Linked DNA regions of Homo sapiens: all the other regions are linked to region 2. The links are contacts of gene promoters, found by promoter capture Hi-C in human tissues and cell types (Jung and others, 2019). All regions are on one chromosome and are shown on one strand. The core of a region is centred on a gene start or on the middle of the fragment in contact, and the rest is flanking DNA. Distances in the headings are between cores, read along the strand shown.

Evidence for each region. Contacts are between HindIII fragments. The study calls those that stand out against the background at their distance.
Region 1: a fragment that was not itself captured here is called in contact with the fragment with the promoter of FAM171A2 in region 2 in 6 of the 25 tissues and cell types used here (IMR-90 fibroblasts, dorsolateral prefrontal cortex, heart left ventricle and 3 more).
Region 3: a fragment that was not itself captured here is called in contact with the fragment with the promoter of FAM171A2 in region 2 in 2 of the 25 tissues and cell types used here (heart right atrium and mesenchymal stem cells).

What each region holds. Positions count from the first base shown.
Region 1 is chr17:44,469,781-44,472,480 of GRCh38, forward strand. All of the region lies in intron 2 of GPATCH8 (G-patch domain containing 8), which reads right to left. Among named protein-coding and RNA genes, the nearest start is that of GPATCH8, 32 kb to the right of the region's middle. The HindIII fragment of the contact is 3,729 bases long and covers 1-2,700 here.
Region 2 is chr17:44,362,432-44,365,131 of GRCh38, forward strand. FAM171A2 (family with sequence similarity 171 member A2) reads right to left here and starts at 1,422. Exons shown (of 8, transcript NM_198475.3): 1 at 1,166-1,422. The coding sequence starts at 1,283. It also overlaps the pseudogene RPL7L1P5. RefSeq lists a silencer at 1,134-1,513. The HindIII fragment of the contact is 16,504 bases long and covers 1-2,700 here.
Region 3 is chr17:44,446,310-44,449,009 of GRCh38, forward strand. All of the region lies in intron 3 of GPATCH8 (G-patch domain containing 8), which reads right to left. Among named protein-coding and RNA genes, the nearest start is that of GPATCH8, 56 kb to the right of the region's middle. The HindIII fragment of the contact is 4,364 bases long and covers 1-2,700 here.

The DNA.
Region 1 (2,700 bases), core at 93-2,592, 110 kb after region 2:
AAAAGCCATATAGTAATGCTACACCATTCAGCTCCAAGAAGCACATTATTTCTAGTGCAGTCCACATATGGTCACTGCTAAATGTCAAATCAGCAGTCTTATAAAGAATTACAGTTTGGAACTAGTGGAGTCCACAGATCTAGACAGATATGCAACATCACAAAACCCAATTATACATATACTTCCAAATCCTTAAGATGCGCAAACTAAACATCAGCAACTGGAGTTTGAAGCTTACACTACATTTTTAAACCTATTAGGTCATCCTGACAACCATAAAGAAAGAATTTTAATCAGTCAGGTAGAGCAAGGACCGACTAGCGGCTGATGGGTAGTTGCACTTCCAACCACAACAGTAACAACATGTTTTAAGTCTATGATGCATGCATTCTGCCTTCTATATAGCTTAAAGTCATTCTCCCATCTGATCCCTCATCTTTTTTTGTTTGTTTGTTTTTGGAGATCGAGTCTCGCTCTGTCACCCAGGCTGGAGTGCAGTGGCACGATCTTGGGTTCAAGCGATTCTCCTGCCTCAGCCTCCTGAGTAGCTGGGACTACAGGCGTGTGCCACCACACCCGGCTAAGTTTTGTATTTTTAGTAGACATGGGGTTTCACCGTGTTAGCCAGAATGGTCTATCTCCTGACCCTGTGATCCACCCACCTCGGCCTCCCAAAGTGCTGGGATTATAGGTGTGAGCCACTGCACCCAGCGCTTTTTTTTTTTTTTTTTTTTGAGACGGAGTCTCGCTCTGTCACCCAGGCTGGAGTACAGTGGCGTGATCTCGACTCACTGCAACCTCTGCCTCCCAGGTTCAAGCAATCCTCCTGCCTCAGCCTCCTGAGTAGCTGGGTAATCCCAGCACATGCACAGGCATGTGCCACCACGTCTGGCTACTTTTTGTATTTTTAGTAGAGACAGGGTTTCACCATGTTGGTCAGGCTGTTCTCGAACTCCTGACCTCGTCATCTGCCCGCCTCAGCATCCCAAAGTGCTGGGATTACAGGCGTGAGCCCCTGCGCCCAATTCCTCATCTTCTAACTATGATAAAGGTCATAAAGGACCGTGTATCCTAAAAAACACCAATTAATTCTTCTGTGATTGAATCCTAGACGGAGCTATGGCTTTAGATCAAGCTTTGTTTTGTAAATATTTTGTCTTTAAGTAAGTGGAGGTTATAATTATAACATTTGAGACCTAAATATCTCATAAAGCAATAACAATTTTTAAAATTCAAATTCAAAGCTTCTCGTAATAGGGATAAAATGTTCACACTTTTCAACTTGTTTTTAATAGAGATAATCAAGTTGTTTAGCAATTCTCATATAATTTTCTTAAAAAGATATTTCATTCTTGAGGAAAAATCTCATTGAAAGATATCTGGTTGGTTGAAGCAAATAAGGGAAAATTAAACTTCAAAAAATATTATTAAATGCTTTACAAATACTGGATTTTGATATATTTTCAACATTTACCTAATAAAATTGAAATACCAATATCTCACTAACAAATCTAAGCTTCGGAAGTTCACTAAAAGCATAATACATTATTGCATCTTCATGTCTCATTTCCCATCTTGCTGGTTTGCATCAAATTTAGCCTACTACAAAATAAAAAGACCTTAATCCTATACTCACAATAACCCTTCACACAGGCATATTCTTGGCACAAACCTGTGCAGAGACCTCCACGGTTACCAGCTGCTGCAGATTACCTTTGGTTAAAAAAAAATGACTAGACCTTTAGCTCCTGCAATGATCTGTAGACTCCCAAAGCTGCATATTTTCAGCCACTTTTGAGTTGCATGCTGTAGCAAAACAGTCAGCACCTCTCAATAGATATTGCTGCAGAGAAAGATTTTAATTCAGCACTCTTTCTGTGTTAGAAGTAACACCATTTTCCCCTAAAAACAAAACAGCTTAATATAGCCAGCCAGCCATGTAATTAAATATTTACTTATTATTTAGTGGGCATTCCTCAGGTGATAAGGGACTTCTTTTGTTTGGTGGGAGGGAGGGAACACTACCTACTTTGATGCCAATCACTGTAGGAGTTTCTCTTAAAACTTAAAATTTTCTGTGACCAAAAAAAGTAAAAAAAAAAAAAAAAAGTTGAAAAAAGAGAAAAACACTTAAAATTTTACTCACAAATGATCAGGCAACAGAAATAAGATCCCTCTTATCTTGTGTGTCAATACTTCTTTTTTTTTTTCTTATTTTTTCTTGCATCTTTGTTTATTCTCCCAGATCCTGTGCCCTACTTCTACCTAATACAATGTAGGCCATGAAGTTCTCTCCTACAACCTAAACTATCTCATCACAAATAATGCATATATTTATCTTTCAGAAGTAAATTTTCATTAGAAGTGTAATTACTAATATACATTTCTGAACATTCATTTATTTAAAAAAATTAAATATCCAGCCTGAGTACTATATACTATTTGCTATTTTAAGTGAAGAAGGTAGCACTACTTAATAAATAAGGCATATTATCAATTCTACTCCCACTGAATGAGATTATTCAACAATGATTACTCAATTAGACTGCCTTCTGATACTGTTCTCGCTATATGTGGCAGAAAAAGTCCTGGACATTATGAGAGGTAAAATAGCATTAGCCTCATGTGCCATAGGAATGAAATTTCCAAAAATATTTCAGTGTAGCCCTCTAGGCTTAAAATATGTTAAATATCATTTAA
Region 2 (2,700 bases), core at 172-2,671:
CCCTCCCTTCATCCGGACCCCACTTCCCTCATCCAGACCCCCCCACTCTGCTTTTCCTGCCAGCTCCTTAGTGTGGGGGGTGAGGAGTGAATACTGCTTCAGGCAGGGATGGGGCCCACAGGCAGGAGAGGGAGAGCAGGACCCGGGAGGTGGACTCAGGACTGGAGTGGGCGGAGGCCCCCAAGCGTCCAGGCCTGCCTGTGGGATGTGTTGTCAGGGTCTTGCTCCCCCACCCTTTCCTGCTGCAGGAGCCGGCCCCACCCCCACCTCACACACCCACCTGCGCCCGGTGAGTCGCTGGGAAGGGTCTCCTCCACTGCGAAGATGTGAGATGAGGAGGGGGTGATATGGGGGCGGGCAGGGGACAGGAATGCCAGGAGGCCTGCTGAATGGGGGGGGACCCAGGCACCTGCCCTCCCAGCCGGCACTGCCCACAGCCAGCTAGCTCAGCATGGCTCCACGACCACAAGCCTGCCATGCTCCCTCAGCTGGGAATCACAATGTACCCCCTTTTCTTAGAGGCCCACAACTGCGGCTCGTCCTCCATCATAGGCTCACAAGCATTTATTTGGTGCACCCCAAACTCTAAACCAGGGGGGCTGGCTGGGAGCTGTCAGGCTCCAGGGCAAAGAACCCCATTAGAGCAGTCAATCCCGCCCACAGCCTCACCCACTCCCCCTTCTCCCCTCCCCCCTTCAAACCCAGCTCCAGGCTCCCAGCCTCCGGTCCCGGCCTAGGGTGGCAGCGGATGCCGGCGCCCCCACCCCGCCAGGGTCGGGAGCGAGCAACCCGCAGGGGGCTGCGGAGCAGGCGCCCGCCCCAGCCCGCCCCTGGGCGGGTGTCTTCGGTAGACAATGGCTCAGGCAGCAGCGCCTCGCGGACCAGGAGGGAGAAAAACAAATAGGGAGAGGGCGGCGGCGCAGATCCTGGGGACCCTCGCACTACCCATTGTGTCTCCCCAAGACCCCCGCCCCGGACGGCCTCCCTCTCCCCGCCTCCACTTTCCCCCAGAAGCGCCAACCCCAGATCGCTTAGCTCCCCCCACCCGAATCCAGGGAACAGAATACCACTCAATTCACGAACGCCGCGAAGAGGGGGCTGACGGGCGGGAGCCTGATCAGGGGGCGCAGGCCCGCGATCGCGGCCCCTCCCGGCTGAGACTCACCCTGCGGGCTGGGGGGCTCCGGCGGCGACTTGCCGGGAGCCCGGGAGGCGCTGCCGAGCAGCAGCCCCAGCAGCGGCAACAGCCGCGCGAGGACGCTGGGGCCACTCGCCGGCGGCATCGCGGGGCTAGGCCGGGCCCTAGCGGTCCATGGCTCCCGCCTGGTCCCGCTCGCCCGGCCCCGCGCAGCCCCAGCTCTGCGCCGCGCCTCGCAGCTCCGGCTCCCGCTCCCGCTGCGGCGCCCGCTCAGCGCGATTGTCTCCGACCGGAGCCGCCGCAAGCGCCCCCTGCAGGCGGCGCGCCACACCGCTGGCCCTCCGGCACCGCCCCCTCCCGGCCCCGCTCCGCCCGCCGCCCCCCGGTACTGCCCACCTTCAGCCCACCCCGCAGCCCCCGCGCTCTGCGCTCCCAGACTCTGCGCTGCAAAGGAGTGTCGGGATTAGGGTCCCATCACCCGGGTTCTTGGGTTTCGAGAGTCCCCAAAATTTGGTGCAAAATTTGTGTGTGTGTAGGTGGGGAGTGGATATTGCCTACAACACTCTCAAGGGGTACGGTCATGAAAGTCTCAGAAAACTGTAAGAACTCCCTGCTCGATGGCCCCCTTCTCCCGGTAGAACACCTAGGCAGTGCTGGGGTGATAGCAGGGAAGGCCCCCTAGACCCCCCTAAGTCTCTCTTTTTTTTTTTTTTGAGACAGATTTTTTTTTTTCAGAGACAAGTGAACATTTATTTTTGGGCCTTTCTTCCTATTTCAAGTCTTTTTCAAAACAAGGCCCCAAGAATCTCCAAATTCAATTATGTCCCTGGGCTTGGCCGACTGGTGCAGGAGTCTTAGGGAGCCTTGTACAAATGCTAGAGTTACTCACTTACCGACATTAAACTAAAACGCTGGAATTTTTCCTTGGAAACTGGACTGTGATTAGAGGTGCTTGCCATGAACATAAGCTACTGTTTCTTCTCCTTCTTTTTTTTTTTTTTTTTTTTTTTGAGAGAGAGTCTTGCTCTGTTGCCCAGGCTGGAGTGCAGTGGCGTGATCTTGGCTCACTGCAACCTCTGCCTCCCGGGTTCAAGTGATTCTCCTGCCTCAGCCTCCCAAGTAGCTGGGACTACAGGTGCACGCCACCATGCCCGGCTAATTTTTGTATTTTTAGTAGAGACAGCGTTTCACTATGTTGGCCAGGCTGGTCTCGAACTCCTGATCTCAAGTGATCTACCCGCCTCGGCCTCCCAAAGTGCTGGGATTACAGGCGTGAGCTTCTGTCTTTTCTTTGACCCTTCCTTTCCAGTTTTTGAAGATAAAGCTGGAAATAATCTTCTCTGAAGATACTTGATAAAAATTCCCAAAAAAACAAAAACACATGCTTCTACTACCCATGCTTCCACTTCATTAATAAAAATTTACTGCAGTTTGGCACCTGGGTCTAGTTCAGCTGGCGGATGAGCTGACTGATGCGTTCACCCTGATAGCCAGGTGTGCCCATCTCCTTGAGGAAGCCCACTGTATTTTTGGTAGCATGACGGGCCACTGAGAGGTAGAAA
Region 3 (2,700 bases), core at 61-2,560, 84 kb after region 2:
TAATCCCAGCACTTTGGGAGGCCGAGGCGGGCAGATCACGAGGTCAGCAGATCGAGACCATCCTGGCTAACACGGCGAAACCCAGTCTCTACTAAAAACACAAAAAATTAGCCAGGCGTGTGGCAGGCGCCTGTAGTCCCAGCTACTCGGGAGGCTGACACAGGAGAATGGTGTGAACCCGGGAGGTGGAGCTTGCAGTGAAGCCGAGTTCACACCACTGCACTCCAGCCTGGGCGACAGAGTGAGACTCTGTCTTAAAAATAAAGGAGTTAGACAAATCTATAAGGTTCACTTCACAATTCTAAAGTTTGAAGAGTGGAAAATATTTGAGTAGAAAATATCTGGGGGGATTATGTAGACAGCAGCCAGTCTTGTGATACTATAATAAGCCAACAATCAAATGCCTTCTTAAACTTACTATTGTTTTTCCATAGCTACACTGAAAATTTTACTATTCCAGGATCACTCCATTACCCCAAAACTTTCCAGCCTCATTTAACTTTCCACTGCAACTCCTCCATTTCATCTATTTTTTTTTCCTTAAAGACTGAGTCTCACTCTGTCACCCAGGCTGGAGCACAGTGTCACAATCTTGGCTCACTGCAACCTCCGCCTCGCAGGTTCAAGTGACTCTCCTGCCTCAGTCTCCTGAGTAGCTGGGATTACAGGCATGCATCACCATGCCCAGCTAATTTCTTTGTGTTTTAGTAGAGATGGGGTTTCACCATGTTGGCCAAGCTGGTCTCGAACTCCTGACCTCAAGTGATCTGCCCGCCTTGGCCTCCCAAAGTGCTGGGATTACAGGTGTGATCCACCGCACCTGGCCTCCATTTCATGTTTAATAAAAAAAAATTTTTTTTTTTTTAAGACAGTCTCACTCTGTTGCCCAAGCTGGAGTACAGTGGCACACTCTTGGCTCACTGCAACCTCTACCTCCTGGGTTCAAGCAATTCTCCTGCCTCAGTCAGCCTCCTGAATAGCTGGGACTACAGGCACGTGCCACCATGCCTGGCTAATTTTTGTATTTTTAGTAGAGACAGGGTTTCACTATATTGGCCAGGCTGGTCTTGAATTCCTGACCTCGTGATCTGCCCGCCTCAGCCTCCCAAAGTGCTGGGATTACAGGTGTGAGCCACCGCACCCAGCCAATAAACTTCTTCCTATATTTTTCTAGGCAATCCCTAAAAAAGACTGGGCTGCAAAGCTTAGCTCTCCAATAAGAGATAATAGCTAGACACTTGTGTGACTTTTGGCAAGCAGAGCCTGAGTCTCAGCAGCCTCCTCTGCAAAATGAAAATATTATCACCACCTTTTTTTTTTTTTTTTTAAGACAGGTTCTAGCTCTATGGCTCAGGCTGGAGATTAGAGTGCAGTCACACAATCATAGCTCACTTGCAGCCTCAAACTCCTGGGCTCAAGCAATCCTCCTGCCTTAACCTCCCAAGTAGCTAGGGCTACAGGCATAAGCCATCACACCACACCTACCCCATCCCCCTTTTTAGGACTGGCATACAGACCAAAAGAGACAACAAATGGAAGATATTTTGTAAACTTTAAATCACTATGCAGAACGCTCAAGGGTTCAGAAAATAAAGAAATTAGTCTTCCTTTTATTTCCAAATTAGACATTTTGGGGGTGTTTGTTTGTGAGACAGGGTCTCACTCACTCTGTTGCCCCAGCTGGAGTACAGTGGCGTGATCTCAGCTCACTGCAACCTCTGCCTCCCAGGTTCAAGCGATTCTCCTATCTCAGCCTCCTGAGTAGCTGGGATTACAGGAGCCCACTACCAAGCCCGGCTAATTTAAATTTGGCATTTTTGAAAGTAAATACCTTAAAATGAAAGATACTCTAAAACAGAATCTGTGATAATTTCCAAATGTTTTACATACAATTTGATGGTAATGAAACAACCCCATTTACAGATGGAGAAAATTATTATCTATGATCAATAATCAAAGTATTACAGGCTGGGTATGGTGGCTCACGCCTATAATCCCAGCACTTTGGGAGGCTGAGGCAGGATGACAGCTTGAGCCCTGGAGTTCCAGACCAATCTAGGCAACATAGGGAGACCCTGTCTCTATGAAAAAAATTTAAAAATTGGCCAGACATGGTGGCAAATGCCTATATTCCCAGCTACAGCTACACAGGATGCTGAGGTGGGAGGATCACGTGAGCCAAAAAAAAAAAAAAGGGGGGGGGGGGAAGAAGGAGGAAGAAGAAGAAGGAAGAAGAAGAGGAAGAGGAAGAAGAAGAGGAAGAGGAAGAAGAAGAAGAAGAAGAAGAAACAAACCACTATCACTATATACCCTTTTGCTCACTTAAGAAGCTTCCTGGACACTCCACTCTCTTGCCTAAGTATCCTACTAACCCAGTGTCATTTTAATAAGGCAAACTAACCTAGGTCCAAAAGTCTATGAATACTAAGATAGGAAACAATGTAAATTAGGCTAAGGCTAAGACTATAAAAAAAAAAAAATAAACAGCACTATACTACTTTAGTGTAACCAATACATTTTGGATAAATTTAAAAAAAAAAACTGTCCACCCTATTTACTATAATGAAGGTAATTTTCTTAGAAGCCTGTTATTCATATGGTCCAAAAGAATGTTTTTCTAGCCCTGATCCATTCTATTTGCATTAAAAAATGGGGCAAGGGGATATTTAAAATATCATTTCCTGGGCTAGGCGTGGTGGC